2 separate regions of the Homo sapiens genome follow, and region 2 is linked to region 1. The links are contacts of gene promoters, found by promoter capture Hi-C in blood cells and fetal thymus (Javierre and others, 2016). All regions are on one chromosome and are shown on one strand. Each heading gives the region's core, a stretch centred on a gene start or on the middle of the fragment in contact. The rest is flanking DNA. Distances are from core to core; before and after follow the strand shown. Region 1 holds the start of STPG4 (sperm-tail PG-rich repeat containing 4). Region 2 overlaps TTC7A (tetratricopeptide repeat domain 7A).

Evidence for each region. The method cuts DNA at HindIII sites, captures the fragments that hold promoters and counts their contacts. A CHiCAGO score of 5 or more calls a contact.
Region 2: a fragment that was not itself captured here is called in contact with the fragment with the promoter of STPG4 in region 1 in 1 of 17 cell types (monocytes); the score reaches 5.2 in monocytes.

The regions. Positions count from the first base shown.
Region 1 is chr2:47,153,690-47,157,079 of GRCh38, reverse strand. It overlaps STPG4 (sperm-tail PG-rich repeat containing 4), which reads left to right and starts at 1,772. Exons shown (of 7, transcript NM_001163561.2): 1 at 1,772-1,909. The coding sequence starts at 1,829. RefSeq lists an enhancer at 1,095-1,254. The HindIII fragment of the contact is 1,547 bases long and covers 1,617-3,163 here.
Region 2 is chr2:47,000,763-47,004,152 of GRCh38, reverse strand. All of the region lies in intron 8 of TTC7A (tetratricopeptide repeat domain 7A), which reads right to left. Among named protein-coding and RNA genes, the nearest start is that of TTC7A, 61 kb to the right of the region's middle. RefSeq lists a silencer at 1,415-1,580. The HindIII fragment of the contact is 2,571 bases long and covers 520-3,090 here.

The DNA.
Region 1 (3,390 bases), core at 523-3,022:
TTTAAAATTAGAGGAGAAACGATTTGTCATAAAATGAATCTTCCAACAATGATAGGCACAGGGTCCTTTGGGACTTAGTGGATTAGGCTTAGAGGTCTACTCAGAGGAGCTGACCCTTGAGATTTTCCAGGTGGTCAAAGAAAAGAATAGCATTTCATGCAGAAGAGCTAGCATATGTGGAGACAAATAGAAATGTGAAGATGGCATGTTTGGGGTTTTTGCAAGCATGATACAGCAGAGCATGCCATCCTAATAAGAGAAGTGGCCGGGTGTGGTGGCTCAACCTGTAATCCCAACACTTTGGGGGACCGAGGTGGGTGGATCATGAGGTCAGGAGTTCGAGACCAGCCTGACAAATATGGTGAAACCCCGTCTCTACTAAAAATACAAAAATTAGCTGGCATGGTGGCGGGCGGCCGAGGTTGTAGTGAGATCGCGCCACTGCACTCCAGCCTGGGCAACAGAGTGAGACTTCGTTTCAAAAAAAAAGAGAGAAGCGAGAGACTGGATTGTAAATGTTGCTTTTGTCCTAAAGGTAATGACAGCTCACATTTACTGACTGCACTGTGCCAGACATGGTTGTGAACAGTTCGAGTTAATCTTTTTTATAACCTATGTGGATAGGTACCAATTTTATTATCCCCTTCTCTATAGACAAGGAAATAAGCACAGAATAAGTCATTATATGCAACCAGCGTCCAAGTCCTGGTAGTCAAGGGAGGAGAGTGATTCAAGAATGAGGGAATAATCAATGCAGCAATGAAAATTGAAGGCCAAGTTTCATAAGAGCTGAAAATCCCCACTGGATTTGGCACTTGGATCCCTGGTGAGTTCAGGTGCAATTTTAATTAAAAGCTGTGTGCAGGCCAGATTAAGATGTTTTAAGGAAAGTATGGGAAGTGAGAAAAGAGTCCATATTACTCTTGAAAGTTTGTAAAGGGAAGCAGAAACTTCATGGTATAGGGCAGTGGAGCTCTAGAGTCAGGTCTGGATTTTAATTCTGGTTCTGCCATTTGTGTGTGATGCTGAGTGAACTGTGCTAAACGTCCAAGGAAACCTTTGTTTCCTCATCCAGAAAATGAAACTAATACCTACTTTGTAGGGTTGGTATGAAGATTAAATGAGACTAATGTGTGTGAAGTCCCTGGAATACAGTAGGTACTGTATAAAATGAAATTAAGGTTGTGGAGGGTTTGTTTTTAAAGGTGAGAATGTTCCTAGGTTAAGAAGAAGCTACAGCCTAGAGAGGCTGACAATAAAAAGGGTCTATACTGAGAAGAATGGGGTGGTCTGTGGTTTCACAGCTAGTGAAACCGGCTGTGTCTGGTGCTCACTCCACTCTGCAAGTCAGAAGCAAGAGAAGTCAGCCCCAGAGTTTCTATTTGGAGGAGCTTAGAAACAATCTTAGAAAGTGGGTGCTAAGGCAGATTTCTCTTAAGTATGCCTACCAAGCACACTGCCTCCCTGTCTGGGGTGTGCGATTGGTGGTGGATTGGAAGGGAACTAATGGAGATTGTGGGTACGCTCAAGCCCTTAACAAGCCTCCCTTTTCGCAGATCCTTACCCGAGGGCTCTCTAGCAACTCCAGAGCCCTCTAGATTTTCTTCTCACAAGCTTTCATAACCGTCTCTTTTCGAGGGTTTTCCTCTGCGCAGTTCTTCGCGCGGGACCTCAAAGTGCGTGCCCGCTTCCCTTCCCTGCAGCACTAAAGACAAACCTGGCGGGTCCCCCGGAGCGGTCCCAGGCGCGCGCGCTCGGGAGCCCACGGGCCACACCCGCCTCCTAGCAACCGGAGCTCAGGTTCAGCCTAGAGAGAGAGGAGGCCACCATGGACCAGCCAGCCGTCGCCACCGCTTCCACCTCAATAAGGGAAGACCTGGTGGGTGGAGAATCATTCATCACAGCTTCGGTAAGATGGCCTGCCCCTTGCCGGCCTGGCTCCTGCTCCCCTCACCAGGCCCACTACCCTTTTCCCACCGCTCTCTAATCCCAGGCCTTCGTGCCGCTCTCGTTCCCTCTTCCTACCCTTCTCTCCCTGCCCTCACGCACGTCTCCACCTGCGGACCTTCCTTCCTGGTCTTTATTGGACATTTCCTTTGTTTTATTTCTTTTCCCCTTGCTTCTTCCCTTTTCCTTCTCCTTCGCCCTTTGTTTTCTGTATTTTTCCCTTCTTCCCACTACTAATTAAACTGGACAACTGCTTTAATATGGTGATTGGATTTCTTTCCCTTTCCGCTCCATCTGCCGGAAGACTGGGTTTTTCCTTCTGTAGTTTTACTAGACACGTTTTGCTCCGCCTCCTACTTTAATATTTATAAAAATATTTGAAGCTACTTTTGCTACGTTTTTCTTTTAGAGTCTCGCTCTGTCACCCAGGCAGGAGTGCAGCGGTGTGATCTCGGCTCACTGCAACCTCCGCCTCCCGGGTTCAAGGGATTCTCCTGCCTCAGCCTCCCGCGTAGCTGGGATTACAGGCATGCACCGCCATGGCTGGCCTTTGTTACATTTTAAAATAAATGTGGGTGAGGGTTGTTTAACCTAATCTTTTATCTTTCCCCTTAGAGTGAATTTAAAGTGGTAGATAGATGGAATTTAGATCACCTGTCTTGGGCAAAACAAAACAGCAGCTGCCAATTGTCTTCCATTAGATTGATCGCGTTTACTTCTCTCTCCTTCCCATCTCATTTTCCTTATTCTGGGGTAGGGGTGGGAGGCCTGTCTTGACCTGCCTGAGAAAGTTGTATTTCTGTGACTATAAAAGTGCAACAGAGAAGATTCAACATAAATCTCGCGAAGAAGTATCAAAGAAGAAGCTCAGCTTTAGCAGTGTCATGAGAAAATGTTTTTTAAAGAAATTAACATATTTCATAATAAAATAAAGCCCAGTGGTACTCATAAGTACAGTAGATTTAAGTTACTAGACAGGAAGAATGAATTATATCAGTTTTACTGATTATTACTTTTAATGCAGTCCTGCTTGATGACCTATATTTTATAGTAATAAAGGCATTATAAATGAAAGGAGAACTCAACATTTTAATGATTTTATCTAGGACAAACAGCAATATACTAAACGGTTGTGTTCTGTGGACAATGGGCTGAAATAAATATGAAATAATAATGGATGAATGGGTATAGAGTACTAAATATGAAGACAAAAGCTTCCTTGGAAACTGAGGAATACCAAAATAATCAGCTTCTTAACTTGGCAAATGGGATGTTAAAAATTAAAGCTACCATTTATTAAGCACTGATTGTATATGCAAGTCTTTATAAGTACAATGCCTTAGTCTTTTTTTTCCCCCTGAGGTGGCTTCTTGCTTTGTCGCCCAGGCTGGAGTTGCAGTGATGTGATCTCGGCCCACTGCAACCTCTGCCTACGGAGTTCAA
Region 2 (3,390 bases), core at 556-3,055, 150 kb after region 1:
GGGTGCCGGGATGCCCGGAAATCCCGGCAAGGCTGAGCTCTGGAGTCAGCCTGTGGAACAGGAGCCACTCAGGAGCTCCAAAGGGTTGAAGGAGAGGAGTGGAGAAAGAAGGTGCCAAGAAATCCCCCTCCTTCCCAGTGAAGTCCACCCACACAGCCACCAACAGGAAGAGAGAAGAAATTCTAGGGAGAGGGTTGGCAGGAGCTAGTCCCCTGAGCCAACTAGGAATACAGCCCTCGTTCTGTCCCCGGCGATGTACTGACCCACTCCACCACCTCCAGCAGCTCCCCAGCTCTGGCCACCCAGGGTGGGGACCCACAGGGGCGGCCTCCAACAGGCAAGAGTGGCTCGGGTGTGAGAGGACGGGGGCACAGAGGCCCTGCCCATGGGGAGAACAGGAAGGAGCAGCATTATAGGATGCACATCCCCGAGTGGAGGCTGACCTGGAATTCTGGTGGAAGCAAGAGGTTATGATGGGAGCGGGTGGAGCCAGGCAGTCTGCAGGGGTGGGAAGAAGCTTGGCTGGGCACATCCAGGGTCTGGGGACCCTCCTGCCTGTCTGTGCAGACCAATCTTGTTCAGGGGATAGTGGGCTGCGAGCCATCACTATGGCCATCAGGATAAAATCTAAACTCCTTTCTGGGGCAGCCTAACTGGCGGGCTTCTCTCCAGTGACATGGAACCCCTTGCTGGTCCCTACAGTCACCATGGCCCATCTTCGGTCATGCTGCAGTTCCCTCTATCAACCTGGACACCTTCTACCTCCTCACAACCCCATTCAGGACCACCCTCTTACAGCACCATCCCTAACTCATCTCACCAGGAGAGGTCAGGCCTCTCCTGTCCTCCCCCAACCCAGCCCATGCCTCAGCTCACATGCCCCCGTCTGGTTCACCAGTTCTTGCTCATGGCTAGACTCCTGGCCCCAGGCACAGCCTCACGCACAGAACTTGACTCAACCTGCAGGGTGTGACACTCAGGAGAGAAAGACTCTGGGCCTGGAGTGGAAACCTCCCCCTGTCCACCCTAGACCTTGACCTTTAAGAGAACAGTGTCTGAATTTGTGTCTGGCAGAGGGAGGGGTGGATTTTCAGAACCGGGCGTTAATTAGGTCAGAAGAATAGGAACAGAAGAGAGGAGCATACTAGCAGCAGCGGCAGCAGCAGCAGCACAAATCCTCAGGCTGGTGATAGGCCCTCAATAGGCAGGCAGCCAGGAAGGCTCCCTGGGGGTCCTAGGGACTGGTGCGAACTGGGGCCTGTGCAAGAGAGGGCTGTGATTCCCCAGCCAGAAGCAGAAGTGGGCTGAGTGGTTACTATGGCTTTGGGGCAGGGCCGAAGTGAAATATTCCTGGTGGTTGCTGGGCAGTGCCTGTGTGTGTAACCATGGCAACAGGGAGGGGTAGGGGGAAATGGGACAGAGAAAAGGCAGGCATGGGGGCTGGTGGGTAAGCCACAGCAGAACAGAATTAATGTGCAGCTCAGGGGCCAGGGCTAGCCTCTGAGGCCAGGGCCTCAGACACTATGGGAGCATCAGTTCCTTCCCAGCACCCCCAGCTGTCCTGCTCCCTCCTCCCTGGCTCACTGCCCTCAGGCCACATGGTGTACCCCCATGCTCTGGGAGTAGCTCTGACCTAGTCCCAGCCACACTCTTTCCCTTCCACCATTGAAGTGGCCTCAGAATCCTGCTTTCTTTCATTAGAAAATCCTCTAGATCAAATGCAGTAACAGATGTGAATGCACTTGTGACCCTTAAAGTAATACATGAACATTAAATCTTCTCACCGTCTCTTCCTCACTGTTCTTAGAATAATGGCAGAATGTTCTCCTCTGGTTTCTCCCTGCCTAGTGTGCACTGCCATAACCCCCACACCCACCCCAAGGCTGCCCAGCGCTGGGGATGCACTGCTCCGTTTAATCCATGCATTTAATCCCAGGATTTAAACCTAGGGCTTGTGTAGTTGTCCTGCTCCTAGCCTTTGTCCTTCCGGCTGTTCTCCTAGGGTAGCCCCTCCTCAATTAAAGAACATTCACTGCAAGCCTTCTGGCAGGTCAGAAGAGGAGAAGCCAAAGAAACAACGCTAGTCCCCATACACCCATCACCCAACAGCTCAGCACTGCTAGCATAACACATTTCTGGTCTTTGACCAAGTATCCATGAAGCAAACATGGGACCTTAGGGAAAGGCCTCAGGCAGGCTGGCCCATGAGAAACCCAAGGCAGGGACTACTCTTGGTCAAACAGCCAGCCCTATGCGTGTGACATGCATTACTCTTTTTTTTTTTTTTTTTTTTGAGACAGAGTCTCGCTCTTGTTGCCCAGGTTGGAGAGCAGTGGTGTGGTCTCGGCTCACTGCAACCTCCGCCTCCTGGGTTCAAGCAATTTTCCTGCCTCAGCCTCCCAAGTAGTTGGGATTACAGGCACCCACCACCACGCCTGGCTAATTTTTTTGTATTTCTAGTAGAGACGGGGCTTCACCATGTTGGCTAGGTTGGTCTTGAACCCCTGACCTCAAGTGATCCGCCCGCCTCGGCCTCCCAAAGTGCTGGGATTACAGGCGTGAGCCACCGCTCCCGGCCTGCATTACTCCTTTAGAAGCTGAATTGTCACATCCACCGTCTCATCTGGCCTCACAGTAACCCTGGGCAGGGATGAAACCACTGACCACCCCCCACCCTCTGCAGATGAGGACACTGAGCCCCAGAAGATGAACTACCTTGCATAAGGTCCCAGGGAGCTGAGGCTGAACCACCCCCCATTCCCTCAGTCGGCCAGTCTGGGACTGCTGCTGCTTGCCTGAGCTCTAGCTGCCTGGGGGCTCCTCTGCCAGCTTTTTCCAACCTAGTAAGATACAAGACTAGTCCTGATCCTTTGGTGGCTGCAGGGCCACAGGCAGCACTAACCTCTCCCTCTGCCCAGCCCTGTTTCTCCTCTCTAACCCTGGACATAAACAGGGCTCCAGTCTAAGAGAAGGAAAGGAAACTACCATGTGGAGCATGTTCTGTACGGCATCTCACAATGCTCACAATAATCTTCTGTGTACTCTCAGCCTATTTTACAGATGAGAAGACTAAGGGAGGCCAGGTAAGCTTTCCAATGCATACAAGACAGGGGGTTGGGACCTAAATTAGAGCCCAGACATTCTGACTTCACTCCTGGCTCCTTCTGTGCCTCCAGGTACCTCCGAGGAAGTGCCCAATAGCCTCATCCGTGCCATAAGAGACCCTGGGCTGGCTCTGCTTATAAAAGAACTGAAGCAAAACACAAGGCCAGGCTTCTCCCATCAGGCCCTGGGTGCTGCTTCTCTGCAAAGAACATGCTCCCTGGGCAACAAGTCCAAGGCCCTGATCAACCGCATTCTCAAAAACAGGCTCTCCATTGGCCAAGGAAC